2 separate regions of the Homo sapiens genome follow, and region 1 is linked to region 2. The links are contacts of gene promoters, found by promoter capture Hi-C in blood cells and fetal thymus (Javierre and others, 2016). All regions are on one chromosome and are shown on one strand. Each heading gives the region's core, a stretch centred on a gene start or on the middle of the fragment in contact. The rest is flanking DNA. Distances are from core to core; before and after follow the strand shown.

What was found. Contacts are between HindIII fragments. The CHiCAGO score rates a contact against its expected background, and 5 or more counts as called.
Region 1: a contact is called between a fragment that was not itself captured here and the fragment with the promoter of CTDSP2-AS1 in region 2, in 5 of 17 cell types (M0 macrophages, M2 macrophages, activated CD4 T cells and 2 more). The highest score is 6.6, in M0 macrophages.

Annotation. Positions count from the first base shown.
Region 1 is chr12:57,875,004-57,881,580 of GRCh38, reverse strand. The region is part of intron 1 of LOC283387 (a long non-coding RNA gene); the gene reads left to right. All of the region lies in intron 1 of LOC124902948 (a long non-coding RNA gene), which reads right to left. Among named protein-coding and RNA genes, the nearest start is that of CTDSP2, 32 kb to the right of the region's middle. RefSeq lists a silencer at 6,561-6,577. The HindIII fragment of the contact is 1,789 bases long and covers 2,577-4,365 here.
Region 2 is chr12:57,834,700-57,841,586 of GRCh38, reverse strand. It overlaps CTDSP2-AS1 (CTDSP2 antisense RNA 1), which reads right to left and starts at 4,496. Exons shown (of 2, transcript NR_188077.1): 1 at 4,373-4,496. All of the region lies in intron 1 of CTDSP2 (CTD small phosphatase 2), which reads left to right. RefSeq lists enhancers at 3,157-3,236, 3,297-3,406, 2,987-3,607, 4,197-4,266, 6,827-6,886. The HindIII fragment of the contact is 9,495 bases long and covers 2,733-6,887 here.

The DNA.
Region 1 (6,577 bases), core at 2,222-4,721, 41 kb before region 2:
CCTCCCACAGATGTGTCCAGAACTCTCTGACTATACAAGGGACACTGACAGAGGATCCCAGGCACACTCACTGCCAGGTCAGTGTCTGGACAAAGCAATCCTAATAGAGCCAAGGCAGAATTAAACATGATCAAGAAGTAAGGGAGCAGGGACTCAGGGCAAATCAGTTCCTGGAATCATAGTCTGCTTACTTCCCAAAACCACCTTGGTTCCAGAAACCCATGCTTTTCAGGTCTAATAGACAAGGCTGTGCTGAGCTCTCAGTCTGGGCCCTACACAGTGCACAGATACTATCAGGACAAAATGAGTCCTGCTGATCATCCCTAAAGAATTTAATACTAGGCCAGGCGCCGTGACTCATGCCTGTAATCCCAGCACTTTGGGAAGCCGAGGCCGGCGGATCACGAGGTCAGGAGTTCGAGACCAGCCTGACCAATGTGGTGAAACCCCGTCTCTACTAAAAATACAAAAACTAAAAACATATATATATATTAGCCGGGTGTGGTGGCATGGGCCTGTAATCCCAGCTACTGGGGAGGCTGAGGCAGGAGAATTGCTTGAACCCAGGAGGCAGAGGTTGCAGTGAGCCGAGATCATACCACTGCACTCCAGCCTGGGCAACAGAGCGAGATTCCGTCTCAAAAAAAAAAAGTAATAATTTCCTTCAATGCAGTGTTTCCCAAAGCGGGGCTCCCTGGCCACCCACATGTGGATCATCAAGGATATTTGTTAATAATGCAGATCCCCAAGCCCAATCCCAGATGGAAGGAATCAGATTCTTTGGGGATGAAGCCCAATAATCTGTATTTTTAATAAACGTCTTCTGTACACAAAAGTGTGAGAACCACTGTTTTAATGTTCACAGAAGACATTAAAGCAGTGGTTCTGTGAAGACAAATTCGTTGTGCTTTGGGACCTGAGAATTATGTTAGGAGTTGAAGTCTCTAGCCATTGTCATCTGAGCTTGAAGTTTCTTTGTGGGCTTCAAGTTTATTTGCTTCTGGTTGATTCTATGAGCTAGTATATGAAACCAGAGCTCCCCTTGAGACAGAGTTTCATTCTTGTTGCCCAGGCTGGAGTGCAATGGCATGATCTCGGCTCCCTGCAACCTCCACCTCCCAGGTTCAAGGAATTTTCCTGCCTCAGCCTCTCGAGTAGCTGGGATTACAGGTAGGCGCCACCAAGCCCAGCTAATTTTTGTATTTTTAGTAGAGATGGGGTTTCTCCATGGTGGTCAGTCTGGTCTAGAACTCCCGACCTCAGGCGATCCGCCCGCCTCCGCCTCCTAAAGTGCTGAGATTACAGGCGTGAGCCACCGCGCCCGGCCAAAACCAGAGCTCTTTGTGAGACTAGTCTTTGAGTCTGGAGTCTGGCCTGGGTATTTCTTTCACTAAGCAAATAGGTCTTAGTTCTCTTCCCAAATACCCAGCCTTACGTTTAGTCTCAAACTGTACCTTTGAACAACTTGAAGAAACTGCCTGGGAGGCACTCTAAATCTGGTCGTTGCCAATAGGCTGTGTCCCACTTACATCTGTCATGGAAGTTATGGTCACCTTTGTTTTAGGAGGAATAAAAAGCAGGAGGTGCTTGGGAAAGGGCTAGGGATAAGCCATCAACCATATCCCATATCCTATATCCCATATTCCATATCCTATAGCCCACATCCATATCCCATAGTCCATAGCCCATATCCCACATCCATAGCCCATATCTCATATCCCATATCCCACATCCATACCCCATATCTCATATCCCACAGCCCATATCCCATGTCCCATATTCCATATCCCATATCCCACATCCATAGCCCATATCCATATCCCATATCCATATCCCACATCCATAGCCCATAGCCCATATCCATATCCCACATCCATATCCCACATCAATATCCCATATCCCATATCCCACATCCATATCCCATATTCCATATCCCATATCCCACATCCGTAGCCCATAGCCCATATCCATATCCCACATCCATAGCCCATAGCCCATATCCATATTCCACATCCATATCCCATATCCCACATCCATATCCCATATGGCATAGCCCATATCCCATATCCATATCCCACATCCACATCCCATATCCCATATCCATATCCCACATCCCATATCCATATCCCACATCCATATCCCATAGCCTATATCCATATCCCATACCTCATATCCATGTCCCATAGCCCATATTCATATCCCATAGACCATATCCATATCCCATGTCCCATGTCCCATGTTCCATATCCCATATCCCATATCTTGTATCCCATATCCCATATCTCATATCCCATATCCCATACAATGCAATCCCCCATCCCTGTTTCTGTTCACATTAGGTTAGTGCAAAAGTAATTGCAGTTTTGCAATTCTTTTCGATGGCAAAAAACGCAATTACTTTTGCACTAACCTAATACTAACATACCTTGGGACAAAGTTTTCAGGGCTTTCTAGTCCTCTCAGCCATTTTTTTTTTTTTTTTTTTTTTTTTTTACCGTAGGCAGAAAGGGCTTCTCTTATCAAAGCTGTATTTTCTTCCTTCTCTGTTTTGGGGTAAGCTAGTTTGAACATAAGCTTACCCTTTTTTTTTTTTTTTTTTTTTGAGACGGAGTCTCGCTCTGTCACCCAGGCTGGAGGGCAGTGGCATGATCTCAGCTCACTGCAACCTCCACCTCCTGGGTTCAAGAGATTCTCCTGCCTCAGCCTCCCGAGTAGCTGGGATTACAGGTGTGCACCACCATGCTGGGCTAATTTTTGTATTTTTCGTAGAGACGGGGTTTCACCATGCTGATCAGGCTGGCCTCGAACTCCTGACCTCGTGATCCGCCCACCTTGGTCTCCCAAAGTGCTGGGATTACAGGCGTGAGCCACTGCACCAGGCCAGCAACTTACCTTTTTACAGTACTTTATTAATATTAACAAGAAGGAGCCAACCCAATCCAACACTCTACATTTTTCTACTAAGTAGTGTACCGCTACAGCCGCAGATTGTGTAATCTGCACCCCAAGTCACAACAGGAAACTGTATAGCTAATTAGATGGCCAATTTCTCAGCCGAAAATGTAGGGGTTCTTTATCCTTCATCTTACTTCTTTGGTTGGACAATCCCATTTTTAGGGCCTGTCTCTTGAAACACCTTATGGAACTCATTTCTGTATCAGTTAGGAATCTTTAGGTTGCAGTAAACCAATCTCCAATTCAACTGGTTTAAACAATATGGAGAATTTATTGGCTCAATTTACTGTGAAGTCCAGAGGAAGAGGTGGCTTTAAATAAGGCTTGAGGCCAGGCGTGGTGGTCATGCCAATAATCCCAGCAATTTGGGAGGCCAAGGTAGACAGATTGCTTGAGCCCAGGAGTTTGAGACCAGCCTGAGCAACATAGCGAGACCCCGTCTCTACAAAAAAAATTTTAATTAGCTGGGCACAGTGACATGCATCTGTGGCCCCAGCTACTCAGGAGGCTGAGGAGGGAGGATCACTTGAGCCTTTGAGGTCAAGGCTGCAGTGACTGTAATCACACCACTGCAGTCCAGACTGGGCAACAGAGTAAGACCCTATCTCAAAAAAAAAAAGTAAAAAGTAAATAAGGCTTGATCCAAAAGTTCATACAACGTTACCATGAAGTCAGTTCCCCCCCTTCTCTCTCTGCCTTTCATGGCATCATCATGTTTCATATAGTGGTCTTCCAACAGCTCCAGATTTTCCCATAACAGTCATGGCATGGCTATAGCAATTCACACCTTACATCTTCATACTAGTAGCTGCTATAAAAGTCCTGAGACTCACATTCTCTCACTCACTTAAAATGGATCAAGTGCCCATCCCTGAACCAGCCACTGTGGTCAGTGCACTAATTAACTTAGCAATGGTTGGGAAGAAGAGCTCATCACACCCAAATCACATGGTTGAAGATGTGAAATCCTCTAAAGGAAAACCATGACTATGGCAGCAGGCAGGGAACAGACACTGGCGAGGCACCCAACAAGGGGTTTGTAGCCAAATAGCCAAAAATGAGTGTGATCTACTAATTTTTTCCCATACTTTAGTCAAAGTGATCTTACTAAAACTCAGATTCAATCCCATCACCCTCCTGTCTTAAATCTTCAGGCTTCCCATTGCCTTTTGAATAAAGTCAATATTTGTTCATACGGTTGGCAGGGTCCTGTATGATCTGGCCAATCTCTCTTTTCTTCCTCCATCACACTTCAGATAAACTAACCCTTTTTAGTGTCTTAAATTTGCCATGCCCTTTTTGAGCTTTCACACATGGTCTTCCCTGTAACTGAATTTTCATCATACTTCTTTGGCTAATTCCTACTCAGTCCTCAGATTTTAGTTTAAAAGTCACTTCTTCCTGGAAGCTTTCTCTGAGTCCCTAGTACTGAGTCATGTACCCCTCCACAGACTCCACATCACCTCTAATTTTTTTTTTTTTTTTTTGACAGAGTTTCACTCTGTCGCCCAGGCTGGAGTGCAATGACATGATCTCAGCTCACTGCAACCTCTGCCTCCCAGGTTCAAGCAATTCTCCTGCCTCAGCCTCCCAAGTAGCTGGGATTACAGGCACGTGTCACCATGCCCAGCTAATTTTTTTTTTTTTTTGTATTTTTAGTACAGACAGGGTTTGCCATGTTGGCCAGCCTGGTCTCGAACTCCTGACCTCAGGTGATCCACCTGCCTCGGCCTCCCAAAGTGTTGGGATTACAGGCGTGAGCTACTGCACCCAGCCTCCAATTTCTTATATATATATCATTTTTTAGTGTCATTGGCATTTAATAAAAGATAAGGAGATCATTACCATGGTCCTCAAGAAATGACCACCTGAACTAAAAGCGTGGCTGCAGAGACAAACGAGGGAGACAGGGTGATAAGGGAAACATTTAGAATAACTCCCATGTTGCTGGCCTGGTTAATAGGTTAATGACACTGGTGTCATGAGAAGGAGGTTAGATCCTATCAAGCCGTGATGGAGCTGCAGCAGACAACTTTAGGTGTCCTGTACTCTATACCCTCTCTCCCTGCTCAGATTCGGGTGCAGCTGTGGCAGACAGTCCACATGGCTGTCTTTCTGCCTTGGCTGGCTTTCTGCCTTGGGCAGCCCAGAAAAATGCAGGGAGGTTAATATCCCCAGCACAGCGCTCAAGAAATGGGGTGTGAGAGACCATTGAATAAGTGCCCTGGCCTCCTATGCTGCTGGGGGCCAATCTGAGATGCACTCTACTCAGTTCCTTATGGGCCCAGCCAGATCGAGCTTCATTTGCTCACAGTGGTAACCAGCTCAATAACATACTCTTTGTGACTTTTCCTTCTTCCCTGCCTCACTCTTTTTGCTCTCGCACCCTGCTTCCCAGGATCGTCTCCAAAATAAACTCCCTGAGCACAAGTCCAAGTCTCAGTCCCTGCTTTCATCCCAAACAGAAACCATTGAAGACTCTTCGACAGAGAAAATAAGAGGAGAAGCAGGTTGAGGGGCAGCTGGCACCTTAACAGCCACCTGTACTGTGAGAAGCCCATGGGACAACACAGGGCCATGATGTTGGCAGGGATTTGACCTCTGCTCAACCTACAGAACATTTTCCCTTTATTTGTCACTGTTGATCTCTCTCTTTGACATGCTTCACTGACACAATCCTACCCTGGTCTTCCTCCTACATTCCTGGCTACTACTTTCAGTTTCCTTTGTAAAATAAAGTTGCTAGTGTTGAGGCTGGGTGATGGGTACATAGGAGGTTGTGATAGAATGTTATACTTTTGTGTGTCTTACTCTTTCCAAGATACTTTTTGTTTTTGTTTTTTGTTTTTTGTTCTTTGTTTTTTTTGAGACAGAGTCTCGCTCTTGCTGCCCAGGCTGGAGTGCAGTGGTGCAATCTCCCTCACGCAACCTCTGCCTCCTGGGTTCAAGCGATTCTCCTGCCTCAGCCTCCCGAGTAGCTGGGATTACAGGCACTCACCACCACGCCTGGCTAATTTTTTTGTATTTTTAGTAGAGACAGGGTTTCAACATGTTGGCCAGGCTGGTCTCAAACTCCTGACCTCAGGTGATCCACCCACCTTGGCTTCCCAAAGTGCTAGGATTACAGGCATGAGCCACCACACCAGGCCTCCAAAATGCTTTTAAAGAATAACTTTTAGGCCAGGCGTGGTGGCTCATGACTGTAATCCCAGCACTTTGGGAAGCCGAGGCAGGAGTTCGATCACCTGAGGTCAGGAGTTCGAGATCAGCCTGGCCAACATGGTGAAACCCTGTCTCTACTAAAAATACAAAAATTACCCAGGCGTGGTGGCGCATGCCTGTAATCCCAGCTACTTGGGAGGCTGAGGCAGGAGAATCACTTGAACTCGGGAGGCGGAGGTTGCAGTGAGCCGAGATTGTGCCACTGCACTCCAGCCTGGGCAACAGAGTGAGGCTCTGTCTCCAAAAAAAAAAAGAAGAAGAAGAACTTTTAAATGGGGTTTCTCTTCTCATTTCTTCTTCATCTACCTAATGGTTTTCAAATGTGTGCAGAAGCTTACATAAGTGTCACCTGGGGATCTTGTTCAATGCATGCTCACCTTGCCCTACTTGAATGAGCCCC
Region 2 (6,887 bases), core at 3,247-5,746:
TTATCTGCCTGGGCTGTGGGACTTTGGCCATTCTGTCTGGTGCCTGGGCATCTGGGGGTGGGAGAAGGCCAGGCATGTGCCCCCTGTGAGTCTCTAAAGTCTAAACTTCCTTAGAGGTTCTCAAATATGGATATAACGAATATTCAGGACAACTGTATGCTACATTCTCTCACTGTCTGCTTTGAGAGTTAATGAATTCAGAGAGATTGAGGTTTCTTTTAGGTAATTTTAATAAGAGGGGGAAAAAGAAAATGGGGTTTGAAGAGAAATAGATGTTCTTAAGCTATTTGTTTGCTCCTGTGGTTTTGGGGTACAACATTGAGAAAGTACAAAAGCAGCATTGATCTGCTTTTCATCTTGTCTTAGTCTGGCCAGCTCTGGGAAGCATGGAATTAACTCGCTTGTCTTTGGGACGTGGGATTGGGTGTGGCCCTGACATATTTCCCTCACTTTTCTGAAATGGAGTAGTAGTTCTGAACTGGGATGCAGATGAGCACATTAACACGCAAATCTTACAAAGAAAGTACTAGAAATTAAAGTGGATAAGTTGACGACTTAAAACTGGAAGCATCTCTGGACCAGAGACCAAATAGAATGGAGTTTCTTTGTCTGGCAAAATGCCCAGCCCTTCAGGTCTGAGTATGCCTGCACCAGGATCTGTTATCACAGGGTACTCCAGTGAGCGCCACAGCCTCCCTCTAGGCAAAAGTGTGTATGCCCTGTTTTATGTTAGCTATTCTAGGAGTTAGCCTTGAACCTGATCTCTGAGTGGATCTGACATTTCCATTTCCCTCCTAGGTGCTCTAGTCCTTCCCCCACCCCCATCCCCCCAAATCAGACTTTGCTCTTACTCTCTTTTTATTCTATACCTTCTTTTATTTCTTGCCACAGCTTTTTCCATCCTCTTGAATTTGCACTTTCCCATCTGCATTGTTCCCAGGGAACAAATATGGCCCCAATCCCAGTGAGAGCCAAGCAGACTCATGGAAAGGCTCAAATTGCCTGCGGAAGGCTTCCTGGATAGTAGATCCCAGCTTTTCTGTTCCCGCAGCAGAATAGAGCTAGGACCCCTCTTTCACAGGAACAGGGGCCTGCAGGTAGAGACAGCAGACCCAGGTTTTCTGACTCACGTCACATAGAACTACCCCTAGAGAAGAAAACTGGATCCTAGGCATGAGTCCTCTAAGGCTTGCAGAAACACTGAGCCAGTCAGGTACGGTGGGGAGAGGGGCCAAGGGGACTTTGGCTGAATTGCCTTCTAGCCCTGGGTTAGTCAGAGACCCTGGCAACCGGTAGATACTGGCTCTCAGCCAGGGACACACATCAGAGTCTCCTGTGACACTTGCTAAAAATACAGACCCCCCACCTGGGATCTGCTGAATCAGCGCATGGGCAGGTGGGTCAGGCATGCATGTGTTCCAAATGCTCCTTGTGGCTCTGACAGGTGCCCCTGGAGAAGAGCCAGGTAGGCACAGCAGTGGCCCCAACTGCCTGTTTTGCCCCGAGCAGGAAAATTCCTCTTGGTGGTCCCGTTTTACTGTATGTTAAAGATCTGTGGCTCTTCAAGGGGAGTCCTAAAGTTTTCAGAGTAAATGGACAGAGTAATGATCCATCCTTGTTTACCCAGTAATGGTTACAGCCAATATTTATAGAGTACTTGCCATAGGCAAGGTACTATTCCTAGCATTTTATATCTCGTATCTCACTTAGTTCTCCTGACAACTTTTCCTTTCCAATAAGAGGAATTAACCTCACTTTACAGATAAGGAAAACTTTCACAGGGAGAGGGAAGGACTTTGCCCAAGGGTACATGGCTAGTGTCAGCCAGACATTTGCATTGTCTGGCATTTCACTTTTTTTTTTGAGATGGAGTCTTGCTCTGTCGCCCAGGCTGGAGTGCAGTGGCGCGATCTCGATCTCAGCTCACTGCAAGCTCCACCTCCTGGGTCTATGCCATTCTCCTGGCTCAGCCTCCTGAGTAGCTGGGACTACAGGCGCCCGCCACCACGCCCGGCTAATTTTTTGTATTTTTAGTAGAGACGCGGTTTCACTGTGTTAGCCAGGATGGTCTTGATCTCCTGACCTCATGATCCGCCCGCCTTGGCCTCCCAAAGTGCTGGGATTACAGGCTTGAGCCACCGTGCCCGGCCTAACATTTCACCTTTTAGAGTGCTTTTGAGTTCATGATTCAGGTGCATGCTTCAGGTGAAGCCACCTTTTAAGGGACCATGCAGGGGAAACCTTTCCAGATTGGCTTATGAGGAAACTGAACCCCAGAGAATTGTGCCCTAGCAAGGCCACGGAACTGTTGAAAAGCTGAACTGGAGCAAGAGCTGGGTTTCCTGACTTCTAGATCAGTACTTTCTCAAGTGGACTCACCTATACGGCTTGGCTGGTCATAGGTGAAGCTGAGGGGTGTGGGGGGAGCAGCAGAATGTCCCTGGAGATGGGTGCCTCCCTGGCAGACTCCTTCCATTCCTTCTGCAGAGGCCAGCCATATGAAGGAGGAACTGGTTGGCCAGCCTCAATGAGTGTGTATGTGTGTGTGCGACTGATTCGTTTTTGTGGAGTCCCGGAAAACATCATTTCCGGTTTGGCCCTGTTACTACCTCTGAAATGAGTTAGAAGAAATCTCTATGGTCCCTTTAATGTGAACATTTTGAGATGGAGACTGAGGTAAGAGTATGAAAGTACTTTGCACTTAATGAGTAGCAGTTGACACTTACAAAGCTTTTGTTAGGACCAGGACACTCCCTGAGCTCCCTGCAATTCTGACACTGAGAAATAGGTAGTCTTCCCATTTTGCAGATGAAGAAACTGAGGCCCATGGCTGCATACCTTACACATGGCAGAGCCTAGATTCGAACTCAAGTCTGGGTGCCTTGTGTCACCACTGTATTTTTCCCTGGTCAGAACAGATACCCTTGCTTTGTCCTGTGTCCTCACTGCTTTCTCCAGCTCACGTTTGTATCAACCTAAAGCAGGCCTACATACCTGGAAGGGAAAGAAGCAGTGGATTCTTCCTAGGCTTCAACTATATCTAAGCATTCCAGGAGTCAAGGGCACAGCACTAAGGCAGGAACTTGAAACACTCACTGAGAGGTTGTCTGTGTGTAGCCCCTCCCACAGGGGCTTGTTATACACCTCCTTAGGGGGAAGGAGGGGTAACTCCAGGTAGGCAAGTGTGGTTTCCAATCCCTCACAATGATACCTTTGCTCTGGCTGGTGCTACATAGGGCAGGGTCTCCTGCTGAGGCAGGGGCAGGATCCAGTCCTTTGAGTTTTCTTGGATGGCATCTCAGGCTTGTCCCTGCTGCCCTGTGGGCTATTAGATCACTTCCTGACATCCCTCAAGAGTCCTCTGGAGTGGGGCTTGCAGGGCTGAGCCTGCAGCTGACTTGTCTATGAGGAAACGCCTCCTCTGTCTCTGGTCCAGGATCTGCTACTTATGGAGGCCCACCCCAACCCAGCACGTTTTTAAAGTACGTTGGAGCTGCCCAGGAGGGTGTTTTGGCAATACCTCCTTTAGAGGCTGATTCTGAAATCAGCGTGCTTTAGAACTGCCAGAAATCCCCTGCTCCCAAAACTGAGTCCTCTTACCTCTCTAGCTGAGGTCAGAGAACAGATTGCTGAAGGGGCAGAGACAAGAAAGTGTGTGACCTGTGACCCTCGCCCCACAGGTGGCATTAAGGACTCAGGTCTGAAAGAAGAGACAGCCATATAGGGAGCTCTCCTGCCCAGGGAAAGGGAACTAATGGAGACACTGGCTTAGGTAGAGCTGCCCCAGTTGCTGGTGCAGAGAGGGCACCAGCATACAACATGCTGGTATGGGCCAAACAGCATGGCTAAAACTGCTTTTTAATTTTTTAAATTTTATTTATTTATTTATTTATTTTGAGACAGAGTTTTGCTCTGTCCCCCAGGCTGGAGTGCAATGGTGTGATCTCGGCTCACTGCAACCTCCACCTCTTGGATTCAAGTGATTCTCGTGCCTCAGCCTCCGGAGTAGCTGGGATTACAGGAGCTCACTACCATACCCTGCTAATTTTTGCATTTTTAGTAAAGATGGGGTTTCACCATATTGGTCATGCTGGTCTCGAACTTCTGACCTTAAGTGATCCCCACTGCCTTTGCCCCCCAAAGTGTTAAAACTGCTTTTTTCAAAAAATGCCCATGCAGTTAGATACACAGCTACTTTTTGGAACTTCGGGAGCCGGTGCTAAGCTGGGTCCGGCCCTGCCTTGCTTGTTAGCTGTAGAGAACAGTGTCAGTGGCCAGGCATGAAAGCAGTACACCCTCCCCATTGTTTGCAGTCTTTTGTGTGTGGGGGCTGTCTAGGCATCTCACCCTCTTTTGTTCCCTGCCGACTCACCTGCTGGTCCCAGGAGCTCTTCCGTCCACCTGGCACTTTAGGGCATGTCCATAGCCAAGGAACAGATGCCCCTTGCAGAGGACCTGGGAGGACTTCTCTCCATGGGGGAGTCCCAGTCAAATGTGTCTTGGCTGCAGGGTTCAGGCAGCCGTCCAAGAAGGGCCGGAAATGCTCCAAATACTCTCCTTCCTCCAATAGCTGAGAGGAAGGAGGCCCCTCAGAGGGGCCATTTTATAGTGATAGCCAGGCTAAGGCTAAGTCCTTTGCTGTGGGGGATGGGAGGTGGTGGGGAAGGAAGTACTTCTGGGGATGAACCAAAAAAGAAAGCAACTTTCTACCTGAATGGGCTTGTTAAAATCTGATTGTCTCAGAGGTTACCTTCTGCTGAATCGCAGGCAGATGTGTGAGGAGTTCCTTTGCTGGGACACAAAGCTGTGTTGTTGACAAAAGTGGTATCTGGACCTGACTTTCAGGAGAAGATTAAAAACAGTGTTGCCCTGGTCACTCTGGTCTTCGTTTGTGTGTATGTGTGCACGTGTTCACGTGTTTGTACATGTACACTTTTTTTTTTTAAAGACAAAATCTCACTCTGTCACCCAGGCTGGAGTGCAGTGGTGCAATCACGGCTTACCGCAGCCTCAAACTCCTGGGCTCCGGTGATTCTCCCACTTCAGCCTGCCAAGCTGGGACTGCAGGTGCACCTGGCTAATTTTTTTTTGGTAGAACAGGATTTTGCCATGTTGCTCAGGCTGGTCTTGAACTCCTGAGCTGCAGTGATCCAACCGGCCCAGCTTCCCAAAGTGCTGGGATTACAGGCTTGAGCCACCTACCCCGGCCCATGCATAGGGGCAAATAGTGTCCTTACCTGGTACTTCTTGAGAGTAGTGGGGATGAATACCAGGGGAGACAGCGATTTTTGTCTCAAGTGAAACAGTCTTACTTGCTTTTGTTTTTCACAGAATACCCAGTCAGGGAGTTTGTGAGCTGGAAAACAAATTTTGTTGTGGACTTGGGAGAAGGTATAGGGGCTATTTTGACTTTCTGAAACCTGCTCATGATCAGAGCTCTCAGGCACCTTTCCCTCATCTTCTTGGGCTTCATCCACGTGATGATGGTGGGAGGGCTCCTGGTCTGTTGCTGGCCTCCTGGAATGAGGCCCATGATGTTGCCATTTAGTGGTCATCTCCCCTTGGATAATTAATTAAAACAAGCGCAGCATTTAGCTTTAGAGTTAGCACAGTGCCTTACTCTCTAACTTCGTTTATCCTTTCAGTCCTGAGTGAGGGCTTGCTGTTATCCCAGTTTATGGATGAGGAAACTAAGGCTCCAAAAGGCTGTGTGGCTGAGTCAGTAACTGGCAGAGCCTGGACCCCAGCCCTGATGATCCTCAGTGGGGGCATACTCCTCACATCCCCTCTTCTCCTCACACCCCGCCTCAGTAGGAAGACTCGCAGCAGTGAGCTGGATGGCTGGCCTGGTTTCCCTGTCTTCAGCCACCAGCTCACTTTCTTCTTAAGCCAGAGCTGCTTCCCTCATTGGGTCTGTGCTAGTCCTCTCAGACATCTAGCCCCAAACCAAATGTTTGGGGCAGAGAAAGCAGAAGCACATCTGCATCTGGGCAGAAGAGGAGGGCTGGGTGTCCGCAGAGGGTAGCAGGGAATGAAGGAGGGAGAGCAGCTCGTAGTTGGGCTACATGGCATCCGCTGGAGTCCTGCCCTCCCTGGTTGGGGAAACCATGTGCAATGAATTTCCTACGGGGGCCAGGCATGGTGGCTCATGCCTGTAATCCTAGCACTTTGAGAGGATGAGGCAGGAGGATTGCTTGAGCCCAGGAGTTCAAGGCCAGCCTGGGCAACATAGTGAGACCTCATCCCTTTTTTTTTTTTGAGACGGATTTTCGCTCTTGTTGCCCAGGCTGGAGTGCAATGGTGTGATCTTGGCTCACCGCAGCCTCCGCCTTCTGGGTTCAAGCAATTCTCCTGCCTCAGCTTCCCAAGTAGCAGGGATTATAGGCATGCACCACCACGCCTGGCTAATTTTGTATTTTTAGTAGAGACAGGGTTTCTTTCTTTTTCCTTTTTTTTTTTTTTTGAGATGGAATTTTGCTTTTGTTGCCCAGGCTGGAGTGCAATGGCATGATCTCTAGCTTACCATAACCTCTGCCTCCTGGGTTCAAGCGATTCTCCTGCCTCAGCCTCCCGAGTAGCTGGGATTATAGGCATGTGCCACCATACCTGGCTAATTTTGTATTTTTAGTAGAGACGGGGTTTCTCCATGTTGGTCAGGCTGGTTTCAAACTGCCAACCTCAGGTGATCCGCCCGCCTCGGCCTCCCAAAGTGCTGGGATTACAGGCATGAGCCACCATGCCCAGCCTCTGTTTTTTTGTTCTGTTTTTAAAGAAGGAAATCGCTGTGGGCCTGTAAATCCTCTTGTGCCCAGTGTTCCTCTCCTGGAAAGGCAGGCTGTGCCCCTCCCCATCACACACAGATGGGTAGGGGATGGCCTGCACCTGGC